3 separate regions of the Homo sapiens genome follow, and regions 2 and 3 are each linked to region 1. Evidence: promoter capture Hi-C in 16 types of primary human blood cells and fetal thymus (Javierre and others, 2016). All regions are on one chromosome and are shown on one strand. The core of a region is centred on a gene start or on the middle of the fragment in contact, and the rest is flanking DNA. Distances in the headings are between cores, read along the strand shown. Region 1 holds the start of PPP4C (protein phosphatase 4 catalytic subunit). Region 2 holds the start of RNF40 (ring finger protein 40). Region 3 holds the start of ZNF689 (zinc finger protein 689).

Region 1 (4,706 bases), core at 1,540-4,039:
ACAGCATTTCACTCTGTTGTCCAAGCTGGAGTGCGGTGTCACAATTTCGGCTCACTGCAACCCCCGCCTCCTGGGTTCAAGCGATTCTCCTGCCTCAGCCTCCCAGGTAGCTGGGACTACAAGCGCATCACCAAACCTAATTATTATTATTTTTTATTTTTTAGGATAGACAGGGTTTCACCATGTTGGTCAGGCTGATCTTGAATTCCTGACCTCAGGTGATCCACCTGCCTCGGCTGCCCAAAGTGCTGGGATTACAGGTGTGAGCCACCACACACAGCCAGGTTCAAATTTCTTTCTTTTTTTTTTTTGAGACAGAGTCTCGCTCTGTTGCCCAGGCTGGAGTCCAGTGACGCAATCTTGGCTCGCTGCACGCTCTGCCTCCTGGGTTCACGCCATTCTCCTGCCTCAGCCTCCCAAGTAGCTGGGACTACAGGCGCCCGCCACCACGCCCAGCTATTTTTTTGTATTTTTAGTAGAGACGGGGTTTCACTATGTTAGCCAGGATGGTCTCGATCTCCTGATCTCGTGATCCGCCCGCCTCAGCCTCCCAAAGTGCTGGGATTACAGGCGTCAGCCACCGCGCCCAGCCCAAGTTTCTTATTCTTTTTGTTTATAGACTGGGTCTCACTCTGTTGCCCAGCCTGGTCTTGAACTCCTGGGCTTAAGTGATTCGCCTCGGCCTCCCAAAGTGCTGGGATTACATGCTTGAGCCACCACACCTAGCCCCGGATTCAAATTTCAGTGTAACATCCCCAATCCACTGTTATACAAGCAATGAACAAGTTATTTAACCCCTCTGAGCCAGTTTCCTCCTCTTAAAAAAGGCACAAAACTTAATAGAAAGCAACTAAGAAGCCAGGCACGGTGGCTCAAGCTGGTAATCCCAGCACTTTCCGAGGCCGAGGAGAGTGGATCACCTGAGGTCAGGAGTTCGAGACCAGCCTGACCAAAATGGTGAAACCCCGTCTCTATTAAAAATGCAAAAATTAGCTGGGCGTGGTGACGGGTGCTTGTAATCCCAGCTACTCAGGTGGCTGAGGCAGGAGAATTGCTTGAACCCAGGAGGCGGAGGTTGCGGTTTGCCAAAATCGCTCCACTGCACTCCCGCCTGGGCGACAAGAGCAAGGAAGGCTCTGTCTTAAAAAAATAAATAAATGAAAATACAAAAATTAGCCAGGCGTCGTGGCACATGCCTGTAATCCCAGCTACTTGGGAGGCTGAGGCAGGAGAATCGCTTGAACCTGGGAGGCGGAGGTTGCAGTGAGCCGAGATTGTGCCACTGCACTCCAGTCGGGGTGAAAAAGCAAGACTCCGTCTCAAAAAAAAAAAAAAAAAAAAAAAAAGAGGCCGGGCACGGTGGTACACGCCTGTGGTACAGCACTTTGGGAGGCTGAGGCAGGTGGATCATGAGGTCAGGAGATCGAGACCATCCTGGCTAACACGGTGAAACCCCGTCTCCACTAAAAAATACAAAAAAATTAGCCGGGCCTGGTGGCGGGCGCCTGTAGTCCCAGCTATTCAGGAGGCAGAGGCAAGAGAATGGCGTGAACCCGGGAGGCGGAGCTTGCAGTGAGCCGAGATGGCGCCACTGGACTGCAGCCTGGGCGACAGAGCGAGAGAGTGAGACTCTGTCTCAAAAAGAAAAACGGAAGCAACTAAGAAATGTCAAGAGTGCCATTTTGGAATCAGAGAAGTCATGCTGACTGAGGCACAGGCTTGGCGTGGGAAAAGTGGACTCCAATCTGTTAACTTCTGAAGTTGTCCACGGCAAATATTTCTCTGACGGCACAGGAAGAGATCTGAACTTGGCTTCCCTCATCCATTGAACAAGTATTAACAAGTATCTATATATGCCTACCGTGCCAGGCCTTATTCTAACCACTGGGGCTGCAATATTTAAAAAGACAAAGTTGGATCCTCCAAGGACTGTGGTGGGGAAGGCTGACAAAACAAGTAACAAAAATGTGTAACATTAAAAAAAAAGTGTAATGTTAAAAAAAAAAAGTGTAATAAAGTTACAAAGCCTAGCCCCAGCTCGGCTTGTTTCCCTAGCTGAAATGGGGGATGGCCGGGCGCGGTGGCTCACGCCTGTAATCCCAGCACTTTGGGAGGCCCGAGGCGGGAAGATAGCTTGTGCCCAGGAGTTCGAGGTCACAGTGACCTATGATAGCCCCACCGACTCCAGCCTGAGCGATAGAGCGAGACCCTGTCTCTAATTTAGAAAAAAGAAAGTTGTGGCCGGGCGCGGTGGCTCACGCCTGTAATCCCAGCACTTTGGGAGGCCGAAGGGTGGTGGTGGGTGGGGGCGCGGATCACCTGAGGTAGGGAGTTAGAGACCAGCCTGACCAACATGGAGAAACCCCGTCTCTATTAAAAATACAAAATTAGCCCAGCGTGGTAGCGCATGCCTGTAATCCCAGCTACTCAGGAGGCTGAGGCAGGAGAATTGCTGGAACCCGGGAGGCGGAAGTTGCGGTGAGCCGAGTTCGTGCCATTGCACCCCGGCCTGGGCAACAGCAAAACTCCGTCTCAAAAAAAGAAAAGACAGTTGTTTAAACATTTTTATGAAATGATATGGGAGGGGACTGGTCTAGGGTTTCTAATAGCCTCCACATCGCCCAGCGGCAGAGCCCACAAAACTGCCACTGGCCGCCACCGGGTTCCTCCACCTCCTTCCCGATCTCAGGCTGGAGAAGTGGTGCAGGGGTCGCTGCGAAAGGAGAGGAGCGTGTATGACGCCACATCCGGCGCGCGGCGGAACTGGCCTCCTTTGCTTCCGCGGCGGGGCCGGAAGTAGGAGCGGCGGCGGCGGCGGCGGCGGCGGTCGAAAGCGGAGTGAAAGAGGGAGGCAGGGAGCCGGAGAGCCGGAACCGGAGTCGCAGCGGCGGTAATAGTGCGAGACTCCTCTAAGTCACCGTCCTTAGCGCGGGACCGCGGGGTTCGACGGGAGTTAGCGGGGGTGCGGCCAGGCCGTTGGACGCCGGGGGGTCCTGGGGCCGATGTGAGGGGAGGCGGGGGTGGGGGAGCCGGGCCGGCTCTAGAATCGAGTTGTCCGCTCCGAGCCCCGGACGGACACTGATCCGCGGGCTCGTCTTGGCCTTTCCCAGGAGACCCCTGTGCGGTGCGGAGGGGGCGGCGGCCCCGACTCTGACCCGCGCCGGGGGTGGGCCATGGCGGAGATCAGCGACCTGGACCGGCAGATCGAGCAGCTGCGTCGCTGCGAGCTCATCAAGGAGAGCGAAGTCAAGGCCCTGTGCGCTAAGGCCAGGTGAGCTCGTTGGCCCTGGGGAAGGGAGGCCAAGCCGCCGCCCACGGGTTCTGGCCTGGGGCAAACCCAACTGAGAACTTTGGGCTTGCCTCGTTCTGGAAGCTTTCCCAGAGAGGAGCAGGATGGAGCCGCTGCCCTCGAGGAAAAGCTAGCCTGCTCGGGGAAGACAGAGTGGATAAAGACACTTAAAGTTTATTAGACGATGTGTTTCCAGTGGAGTAAGAGTGTTACATAAAGTACTTAGGAAACTCAAGGAAACAAGTCCATCTGTCGGGGGACGGAAGCTTGTTGGAGGGGGGCCGAACTGTGGGAGAGGCCTCGAATAAGGAGGTGGTAAAAGAGTCAGCCAAAAACCAAAAGTTTAAGACAGGAAAGTTAAAGACCCTGTGATTTATAAAAGTCTTCTAATTACAACAACCCTTAAAGATTGGTGGTATTGTACTCATTTTACAGGTGGGAACTTTCATGTTCAAAGTTACCCACAAGTAAGGAATGGGGTCTGAAGCCAGCTCTTAGTGTCCTGTCCTTTTTCAGGCCATAATGCAAAAAGGTGGAGTTGGATCATTCACGTTCAGGGTGGGAGCCTGAGAAATCGTAGCAAGTAAGCCAGGGTAGAATTAAGCACGATAGGGAGGCCAGTTCAGAGTTCTGTGGGAAGTAGGATGATGTAGTGGTTAAGGCTCTAGGTTTTGCAGTGTGAGATGGCTCTAGGTTTGAATCTGAACTCTGCCGCTTTCTAGCTGTGTTAGTAATCTTAAGTGTCTTTATTTGTAAAGCAGAATTAATAGTACTTAATAAGATGATTGTGAAGATTCAGTGAGTTGGTGCTGGAGATGAGGTTAGCACAGTGTTTTGGTACAGCATACGTGCTTGATAATCACCAGGTATTCTATTTCTTTTGGAAGAGGGCAATAATGAGATGGGCTAAAGCCATCAGGGAGGGCTTTTGAGTGGAGGTAGGCCTTGAAGGATGAAGATAATTTGGCTAGCTGATGGAGGCAGGGCCAGTGAGGGAAGGGCATTCCAAGCAGGACGAATGTAACAGTGGAGGCCCTGAGATGCGTGGGGAACAGTCAGGGGTTTAATTACCTGCCTCCTCTGGGGAACTGTGTGATTGTGGCTTCTACCAGGCTGGAGAATTGTGGCAGAAGAGCCCACAGAATTACCCTACGTTTATTGAACAGTAAACATTGGCCTTTACAGGGCCACTATTTGGCCTGGCCCGGTACTGGCAAAAAACTTCTATCCATCTCTTCCCCCCAGCAATCCTATGAGGTTGGAATCATTTGCTGCATTTTATCGAATAGGAAGCCATGACTCGTAGAGGTCTGGTGACTTAACTGAGGTCACCCACTGAGGACGTGGCAGAGCTGGGTCCTGAATCTGTGGCCCTCAGGCTCTTTGCCTGGCCCTGCCTCACATAGACTACCTGCAG
Region 2 (4,706 bases), core at 1,000-3,499, 690 kb after region 1:
TCTCAGAACAGTCCTGTAAAATGTGTGCTGTATCCTTAATTTCTAGATAAGGAAGCAGTGGATTGGAAAGCTGATGGCTTGTGTATGATGATGCTACTAATAATGACATATTCCAGGCAGAAATCCCCTGCTTCTGCTTCCCATGGTCACTTGTGCCAGGCCCGGTTCCTCTTCTCCCTGGGGCTCAAACCTGGTAGCTGCCCCCTCTCACCAATACAAGCCTTGTGAAGATCCTGGAGCAGGGCACAAGCCGCTGACGTCTGCTCCAGTGAGAAGCCCTGCTGGCGGCAGAAAATGAGCGCGTGGCAGAAGAGGTCCAGGGTGATGGCGTCCCTCAGGCTCTGCTCAGGACACCCTAGCTCCAGCAGCTCAGCCAGCACCCTTGGGAGGGAGAGAGGAGTGAGTGACAACTGGGCCTCCTTTCATCACCCTACACCCACCACATGCTTTGGAGTCAGCCATTCCTCATGTTTTCCCAACCTGACCCCTCAGCCTTTGCCAAGAGCTCTTCCCACGCCCCCCTCAGTCCCTACTCCCTCATCTCAGCATTGGTGGTCTTCTCCAGCTGGTGCATGGAATGGACGTCCAGGTACTTCCTGTTATAGTAAAAGAAAAAGAGTATTGGTGGCCGTTACCTATCATGACAAGGCTGTGACAGCTAGTGCGTGAGACTGGGAGTTGGCCACCGGCGTGAAGCTGGGCTCTTTTGCCAGCTTGCTGTGTGACTATGCAAATCGTTAACTCTCTGGGCCTAAATGAACTCTTATGAGCCTCTCCATTTCTAAAGCCTAGGGTTAGGAATCTTGAATTCTTTTTTCTGCTCTGCCACTACCTTGTATGACCTTGGTCAAGTACTCCCTGTGGCCCTCAGTGTCCCCCTCTGTACAATACTCCTTAGCGGCCATGAGACTCCATTTACATTCTGTCTTTGGCTCTTTTTTTCTCACACTGCCTCCTCTTTGGACTGGAGAGGCTGGAAAGCCAACTTCCAGTCACCTGGAGTAATTGCATCTCCAGGCCTCAGTCTCATCTGTAAAATGGGGATGCCCTGGCCACAGACAGGACTGTTGGGGAGACAATAAAGAACGCAAATATTCAGTGTAATTTTTGTCTCTTCACACTCACCACATGCAGATCCGGGGTCGGGGCAGCGGCGGCTGCGGAAAGAAAGCGAATTGGGGAAGGCAGCTGCGGTGTCCTGGCCCGTAGCGAATCTCCAGCAGGCCGGAGAAGCCGCTGTAACTTGCCATCTCATCTCAAGGACTAAGGAGAGGCGCGGGCGAGGGAGGGCTTCAGCAGGCCCTAGGTGCTCTACGCGAGCACAGTAACCACCGGGGTCACACACCCCTGCCTCTCCTCGCCCAAGCAGCCCGGGAGACGTCCCGAACGTTAGTAAGCATAATGACAGGTGGCGCCTGCGGGGGAGCCGGTTTATAAATATTCACGAGCAGACCAGACTGTCCCGCCCTCACCGGAAACAAGTTGGCTCCGGGGTCTTCATCCGCTTTCGCCGCCGCCGCCGTCGTCCACTGAGTCCGCACACTCGCACGCGTCCGCGCGGCCGACCCATGCACTGAGCTGCGATCCTTCCCCGCTTCCCGCCGCAGCTCGGAGAGATGTTCAAGCTCCGACTGCACCCTCATTCCCAAAAAGTGGCTGGTCTTGCGGTTGAGCATCTCGCCGCTCTTCCGTGCCGCGAGGCGCCCCGGGCTCCCGCCGCCTAGGTTCCAGGACAGCCAGCGCTCGGTCGGCGGCTACCAAGGCCGGGCCCGTTCGCCTCGCTCCGGCCAATCTACGCGCGGAGAGGCGCGGCGGGGCGAATCCGTGGGGGCGTCTCCCTCCGTCTCAACGGCGACGGTTGCCAAGGGGGCTTGTGAGGGAAGGAAGGCGGAAAGCGCAGGCTCACGCCAGTGGGAGCGAAGAGAACGCGCAGATACGTGAGAAGTTGCGAGTGCCCACCTGGGCGCCCTCTCTTCCAGGTTGCTAATACGAGGGCCGGTGCTGTCCTCCAGGCTGGGAAGTGGGAGCGCGGTGTCAGTTACTATGGGAACTGCCTCTTGGCCAATCACCGAGAGAAAGAGGAGGTGTTTGGGAAGAAGCCAGAGGACCCGAGTGGCGGGACCAAGCGTAACCAATAGAAGCAGAAGATAAAGAAGTTTCCTCACATCCGGGGCTGCCTTTGGCGCCTGCGCCCTGCGCACCGTTGGGGGGGGGGCAGTGGCGTCCAGTGACGCCCAGTGACGTCCGGTGAAATCCAAGATGGCGGCGCTAGGCTGACCCTCCTGCTGGTGAGGGCTCTGGCGCCGGGGGGGACGGGATCCAGCAGGTGTGTGCAGGGTGGAGGGTGTTTGGGGCTGTGGAACACCAGCCGTTCCCACATCTCTGCTCTGTGTCTTCTGCAGGTGACGGAAGTACCGCCTCCTCCCGTTTGACGCCCCTCAGGGGACCCTGCATCGCTCCAGCCGCCGCGGCCATGTCTGGGCCAGGCAACAAACGCGCCGCCGGCGACGGGGGCTCAGGGCCCCCGGAAAAGAAGCTGAGTCGTGAGGAGAAGACCACCACGACTCTTATCGAGCCCATTCGTCTTGGAGGCATCTCTTCCACGGTTCGTGGGCTCTTGCCTTAACCCTCAGAACTTCCCAGAGCCCTCCCTCTGTTCTCTGGCCAAACTGTGCGGAATCTTACACCCACTTCCCCAAGTTTAGCAAGGTCCGCGTTACAGGACCTTGAAAGAAAGGTTAGAAAGAAGCTCAGAACACGACGCCTGTCTTCCCTTTACAGATAGGAAAACAGGTTTCCAGGGGGCGTGTGACTTGTCAAAGACTAAGGATTTACAAGGGGACAGGCAGAAACAACGTGAGCCTCCTCACAACAAAGACACTTTCGCTGTGTGTTGTCTGAGCCTCCTTAGATTCTGTTAGCGGTTAGTGTGGGAATACCTCCATCTCCCATGCATTGCAGATGCTCTGCTCCTCTTTCTCTCTCTGTGATTGGTTTGTGGGCCCTGCTTGACGCTCTCGTCGGCCCCTTTGTTTCCTTTGGTAGGAGGAGATGGACCTGAAGGTACTACAGTTCAAGAACAAGAAACTGGCAGAGCGGCTGGAACAACGGCAGGCTTGTGAAGATGAACTCCGAGAACGAATTGAGAAGTTGGAGAAGCGGCAGGCCACAGATGATGCCACACTCCTCATCGTCAATCGCTACTGGGCCCAGGTGGATACCTTCTGCTTTCAAAGACCAGGCCTTGATTCAGCTGCCAATCCCCAGATTCCCCTGCTAGGAAAGGAGTATCATGTTGGAAAGCACTAAGGGATTCATAACATTTTTGATGTTTTCTCCTTCCAGCTGGATGAAACTGTGGAAGCCCTTCTCCGATGCCATGAGAGCCAGGGGGAGCTGTCTTCAGCGCCTGAGGCACCTGGGACCCAGGAGGGGCCAACATGTGATGGGACTCCTCTCCCAGAGCCGGGGACATCAGAGCTGAGAGGTAGGACCAGAGTGCTGGGATCTGGGGAGCTTAAGTTCTGGGAGAAGTCCTGGGGAGGAGGGGACTTTGGTGTTGGGCCCCTGAATTGCCTATCTTACTACTTCTCACGAAATGGATTTCATGTTTGGGCAGTAAAGTGCAGTGCACAAAAACACAGGCTTTAGACTCTGACTAACTTGGTTTATAGAGCAATTCATGTTTTGACACCCATTTGTTTCAAAACAGTATTATGGTTGAGTATTAAATATGTATTTGACGCTTCCTAGAAATGAGTGTTGCACTTGCTATAAGGGAGGAAATTATAAACATAGTAAGCAGAAAGTACTGGGGCTCCTGAAACGGAATGATTGTGTGTGCATGCATGTGCGTGTGATTCTAATTATATTGGTAAAGTACAGGAAGCTTCCCTGAGGATGTGATACGCAACTCTGTAGCTTTGAGGAAATTACTTTACCTCCCTGAATTTCATTTGTCTCACTTTCAGGATGGAGATAATAGTGCACTATAGGTTGTGTTGATTAAGTGAACCATGAGTATTGAAGGGCTCAGTCTGGAACTTGGTACAGAGTGGTAGTAACTGCTGCTCTTATCCTCATGAGGGTCTGTCCATTCCTTCCAGACCCCTTGCTGATGCAGCTGCGGCCCCCTCTCAGTGAGCCGGCCTTGGCTTTTGTGGTGGCACTGGGTGCCAGCAGCAGTGAGGAGGTGGAGCTGGAGCTGCAAGGCCGAATGGAGTTCTCCAAGGCAGCTGTGTCTCGTGTGGTAGAGGCCTCAGACCGCCTACAGCGCCGGGTGGAGGAACTCTGTCAGCGAGTGTACAGCCGAGGTGGGTTCTTTGTGCCCATACTGAAGGGGTGTCCATCCCCACCTGCATCTTGATGGCACCCCTTCCTGATTCCCCTAATGCCCGAGTCCAAGGGCGGCCAGAATTTCCCAAGGAATAAATCAGCCATGTTCTTGGAAGAGGTAGGTTAGGCTGTAGATGGGGGTTCCAACTTTGATTCCGGGATTGAATGCTAGAGAGATGGGTTGGAGGAGTTGTTGATGCCGGTAGAGGCTCCTGGCCAGAGGCCCCTCTGGAGCACTTGGTGTGGGTTGCGGATCCACAAGGCATAGCTTCAAGGGCTCAGGCCTTGTAGGTTGACAGGCTTCTCCCACCTTAGTTCTGCCACCCTCACCTGGACATGCTGGGAAAGTGGCTCCCCTCTCTGAGCTGGTT
Region 3 (4,706 bases), core at 1,555-4,054, 530 kb after region 1:
CGTCTCAAAAAAAAAAAAGAAAAGAAACATAAGTCCCAAGGCTCAGTGTACAGTGTGCACAGGCCCTAAGATCTTCTTAGACACAAAGTGTAAAAGCAAGACAGGCTGGGCGCGGTGGCTTACACCTGCAATCCCAGCACTTTGGAAGGCCAAGGCAGGCGGATCACCTGAGGTCAGGAGTTCGAGACCAGCTTGACCAATATGGAGAAACCCTGTCTCTACTAAAAATTAGCCGGGTGTGATCGTGGGCACCTGTAGTCCCACCTACTCCAGAGGCTGAGACAGGAGAATTGCTTGAAACCGGGAGCAAGAGGTTACAGTGAGCTGAGATCGTGCCACTGCACTCCTGCCTGGGCAACAGAGCAAGACTCCGTCTCACACACACACAAAAGAGTGTAAGGCAAGATATGGAAACCTATGAGGTATGAGCTAGCAGTGACTGGGTCAAAAGGCCCTCTAAGCCAATGGTTCTCAAACTCCACTGTGATCAGAATCATTGGGAGGATTTACTGAAACAGAATGCCAGGCCCTAGTGCCCGCTTTGGATTCAGCAGGTCTGGGGTAGGGTCCAAGAATGTGCATTTCTAACAAGTTTCCAAATAATGCTGCTTCTGGTCTGAGACCACGCTTTGAGAACCACTGCTGTTAGCATTGTTAAAGACCTTGGACTGTATTTTACCCAATGGTTTTCTTTTCTTTTTTTTTTTCCCCCAAGATGGAGTCTCACTGTGGCACCCAGGCTGGAGTACACTGGCATGATCTCGGCTCACTGTAACTTCCACCTCCCAGGATCAAGCAATTCTCCCTGCCTCAGCCTCCTGAGTAGCTGGAATTACAGGCGCCCACCATAGTGCCCGGCTAATTTTTGTATTTTTTTAGTAGAGACGGGGTTTCACGATGTTGGTCAGGCTGGTCTTGAACTCCGGACCTCAAGTGATCTACCCACCTCGGCCTCCCAAAGTGCTGGGATTACAGGCATGAGCCACCAGCCGGCCGGTTTTCAAACCTAGATGCACATCTGAATCAGCTGAGGCTATTTAAAAAATGGAAGTTCCTAAACATTCACACGAGTGAATGAATAGCTCTGGGATGGGGTCCTGGAACCTGCGTTTTTACCAAGTTCCCCAAGTGATTTAGATATAACCAATGGCCATTTAACAACCTTGGCAAAAATTAACTGAAAAGTTTTAAGCAAGGAAATATCATGGTCAGATCTGAATCTTGGACAGCTATCCCTGGTCTTGAAGAATCTGGCTCTGAAATTCCAGCCCAGACAGCTCCATCTTCTACTATGGGTGGATCTGGGACCCTTCTACCTGAATGGGGTTAAGCAGAGCCTTGTTGGATTCTGAGGAGATTGCAGTATGTCCTTCGCTGATAAGGGTCATCCTGCCGTAAGAGCAGAAAGAGGCCCCTGCATCCCAGGCAGCTGTTCCCCATGAGCTCCCTTCAACCAAAACCCAGAAAACTCTGAGAAGTTTAGGATCTCTTTGGTCCAACTCAAAGGTGGCTAGAGGCAGAGATCCTGGAAAGGAGGCAGAGGGTAGCACCTGTTAAAAGCTCACTGATTCTGGCTGGCTGCAATGGCTCACGCCAGTAACCCCTGCATTTTGGGAGGCCAAGGCAGGAGGATCGCTTGAGGCCAGAAGTTCAAGACCGAACTGAGCAAGACAATGTTTCTACAAAAAAAAAAAAAAAAAAAAAAGACGAAGAATAAGCCCACTGATTCATTCACACAGTGGAAAACTGCAGCTTGCAGACTGACATAGGAATCTCTGTGTGGTGGACCGGCCCCACACCACCAGACACAAGAGGCTGGGAAGATGAATATACTAAATACGCGGCACCCACCCCTAGCCCAACCAAAACTCTGGACAGAGCCGTTAGAGGTAGAACGTTATAGGAGGGCTGCAGGCTCTGCGTGGTTATTTAGCACTCACTTCTCTGGACTGTTAGCCCTCTCGGGTACTCCTGCGGATCTAGAGCAGCCGGTTCCCAGTCATCGGTGTTTCGTTCCAACCAGGAGATGAGGGCTGGTTTGGGACCTGCGCACCCTGGGGAAAGAGAACAAATCAGAAGGCCAGCTCCTAGATCACGCCGAGTAGTATCTCCCCGACGGCACCTCCTGCTAAGCCCCTGCCCACCTCCCCTGACAACCTGGTCGCCTGCCAGGACCGTGGCCTCCCTGCCTACACCCTCTCCGGCTCCTGCATCCCTTCGCGCCCCGCGGCAGCGGATGGGGCCGGCCTCACCGAGCGCGCCCAGGTGACCGTAGGTCTCCCGCATCACGTCCCGGTACAGGGCCCTCTGCGCGGGCCGCAGGCAGCCCCACTCCTCCGGGGAGAAGTACACGGCCACGTCCACGAACTTCAGAGCCCTCGGCCTCCTGCCCCTTTTCCGACTGGGTCTGGCCTTTCCTGGTCCCTGCGCAGGGAGCGGAGCCGAAGGTGGCGCCATGGGACCCGAGAAGCCGGCGCCACGGCCTTCCGTGTCCAGGCCTCGGCCCTCGGGCGCTGGCGGCCCCTGGGATCGAGGAGCCCCTGCCGGACCAGGGCTGAGCGTGGCCGGGGAGGCCCGGAGGGAATCGGAATTGGTCGCCCGCGGGGCTAACGGAAACCTTTTGCTGTTATTCAGGAAACTCCTGCCCGAACTTGGGTGAAAGGCACCGGAAGATGCCTTCGGGGAAAATGGCGGCGCTGCTACCGCACCGCCTTTGCCTGGAACACAGGCAGCTTCCAGCTATCGATTTTATTGACCGGAGCGCCATGCCGGCTTCCTAACCTCTTTGCCCTCAAGTGTAATGGCGCTGCGATTGGGCTTCACGCCGTCTTTTTTCCCCTCCCCAATACGCGCGTTCATTGGACGAGAGCCGAAGATCGAGCGTTCTGATTGGGTGCTAGCAAAGGCGGTCCGTTTGAACGAAGCCAAGAGCTGCATAAGGGCAGGAAGCTGGACTGCTAGGATCAGGCGACTACAAGGAGTTGTGAAGCGACTTGCACCGACCTGGGGGCAGCAAGAGGCCCCGGGGCTGCTTTCCGCTGTTCGACTCTGGCAGGCTCAGCCAATCACTGAAGGAGGGAACGATTTGAGCGATGGAGCCACTCTGGCCGAGTTAGAGCTGAGATTATCCTGAGTTCCTTTTACTGGTGTTCTCAGAGCATCCTTGACTTTGGAGAATGGTTATCTTCTTTGTTTGCCCTTTAGGGGAGGGAATTATGGTTAGCATTTCCTGGGGGCAGGCGCCATGCCCAGCATATTACATATTTCATCTTTATTATTTTTTATTTTTATTTTATTTATTTATTTTTGAGACAGAGTCGTGCTCTGTCGCCCAGGCTGGAGTGCAGTGGCGAAATCTCGGCTCACTGCAGCTTCCACCTCCCACGTTCAAGCGATTCTCCTGCCTCAGCCTCCCGAGTAAGTGAGATTACAGGCGCGTGCCACCACTCCTGACTAATATTCATATTTATTAGCAGAGATGGGGTTTCACCATGTTAGCCAGGCTGGTCTCGAACTTCTGACCTCAAGTGATTCACCCACCTCGGCCCCACGAAGTGCTAGGATTACAGGCGTGAGCCACTATGCCCGGCCTTATTTTTATTTTTTTGAGACAGGGTCTCACTCTGTTACCCGGGCGGGATGGAATGCAGTAGTGCAATCTCAGCTCACTGCAGCCTCTAACTCCTGGGCTCAAGCAATCGTCCTGCCTCAGCCTTCAGAGTAACTGGGACTACTGGTGTGCACTACCACGCCTGGCTAATTTTTTATGTTATTTGTTGAGTCAGGGTTTCCCTGTGTTGCCCAGGCTGGTCTCGAACCCTTAGGCTAAGTGATCCTCCTGCCTCGTCCTCCCAAAGGGCTGGGATTACTGGCATAAGCCACAGCACCGGAGCCATTAGTTATTCGCTTTTTTTTTTTGAGACTGGGTCTCATTCCGTTGCCCAGGCTGGAGTGAAGGCATGCACCCACAGTGCTCTGCTAATTTTTTGTATTTTTGGTAGAGACGGTGTTTCGCCATGTTTCCCAGGCTGGTCTCGAACTCCTGAGCTCAAGCAATCCGCCCACCTCGGTCTCCCAAAGTGCTGGGATTACAGGAGTGAGCCACCACACCCAGCCCGTTATTAATTCTTTACTAGCATTTTGTGAACCAATGGTTATCATCCTGGTTCTACTAATGAAGAAACGATCTCAGAGGGATTCCATGAGTTTCCAGGGCCATACTGCTAGTAAGGAGTGGGGAATAAAGATTTAAACCTGGGGCAGACAGAGCCTTTATTCATACCACTGATAGGCATCCTTCCTTCACAGTATCCTAATTTGCTTGCTAAACCAGGAATCCACCTGAGCTCTTGTTTTCTTCTCAAGTTCAATATTCTGCATAATCTCCCTACATTATTTTCACGTGACATTTGTTCAACGTACAAAGCATAGTGCTAGGCAATTGGGAGAGCGTACATAAATAAGTCATAGGCCATGCTTTGAATGGAGCTTACAGTCTAGTAAAGCATATAAATTCACAATGAATCATAACAGAATGATACAAGCATGTATGTGAAAGGCACTGAACTGAAAATTGCTGATGGAACAAGCCAGCACCCACCCCATTAGCCTCCACATTTTTTTTTTTTTTTTTTTTTTGAGACGGAGTCTCGCTCTGTCACCCAGGCTGGAGGGCAGTGGCGCCATCTCGGCTCACTGCAAGCTCC

The links. The method cuts DNA at HindIII sites, captures the fragments that hold promoters and counts their contacts. A CHiCAGO score of 5 or more calls a contact.
Region 2: a contact is called between the fragment with the promoter of RNF40 here and the fragment with the promoter of PPP4C in region 1, in 1 of 17 cell types (naive CD8 T cells). The highest score is 5.3, in naive CD8 T cells.
Region 3: a contact is called between the fragment with the promoter of ZNF689 here and the fragment with the promoter of PPP4C in region 1, in 1 of 17 cell types (naive CD8 T cells). The highest score is 6.2, in naive CD8 T cells.

Annotation. Positions count from the first base shown.
Region 1 is chr16:30,073,205-30,077,910 of GRCh38, forward strand. It overlaps PPP4C (protein phosphatase 4 catalytic subunit), which reads left to right and starts at 2,790. Exons shown (of 9, transcript NM_002720.3): 1 at 2,790-2,890; 2 at 3,111-3,271. The coding sequence starts at 3,174. RefSeq lists enhancers at 1,512-1,691, 3,314-3,403 and a silencer at 3,064-3,203. The HindIII fragment of the contact is 10,067 bases long and covers 1-3,371 here.
Region 2 is chr16:30,760,073-30,764,778 of GRCh38, forward strand. It overlaps RNF40 (ring finger protein 40), which reads left to right and starts at 2,250. Exons shown (of 20, transcript NM_014771.4): 1 at 2,250-2,288; 2 at 2,403-2,605; 3 at 3,046-3,213; 4 at 3,346-3,487; 5 at 4,107-4,313. The coding sequence starts at 2,474. It overlaps PHKG2 (phosphorylase kinase catalytic subunit gamma 2), which reads left to right. Exons shown (of 10, transcript NM_000294.3): 10 at 1-1,104. It overlaps CFAP119 (cilia and flagella associated protein 119), which reads right to left and starts at 1,990. Exons shown (of 9, transcript NM_001014979.3): 1 at 1,473-1,990; 2 at 1,126-1,157; 3 at 534-596; 4 at 212-381. The coding sequence starts at 1,676. RefSeq lists enhancers at 1-1,114, 1,079-1,228, 1,819-1,998, 1,954-2,591, 2,079-2,338 and 3 more and a silencer at 1,313-1,542. The HindIII fragment of the contact is 4,015 bases long and covers 1-3,887 here.
Region 3 is chr16:30,607,585-30,612,290 of GRCh38, forward strand. ZNF689 (zinc finger protein 689) reads right to left here and starts at 2,805. Exons shown (of 3, transcript NM_138447.3): 1 at 2,253-2,805; 2 at 1,941-2,054. The coding sequence starts at 2,457. It overlaps LOC124903678 (a long non-coding RNA gene), which reads left to right and starts at 2,890. Exons shown (of 2, transcript XR_007065051.1): 1 at 2,890-3,179. RefSeq lists a silencer at 2,495-2,544 and an enhancer at 2,832-3,801. The HindIII fragment of the contact is 6,999 bases long and covers 1-4,706 here.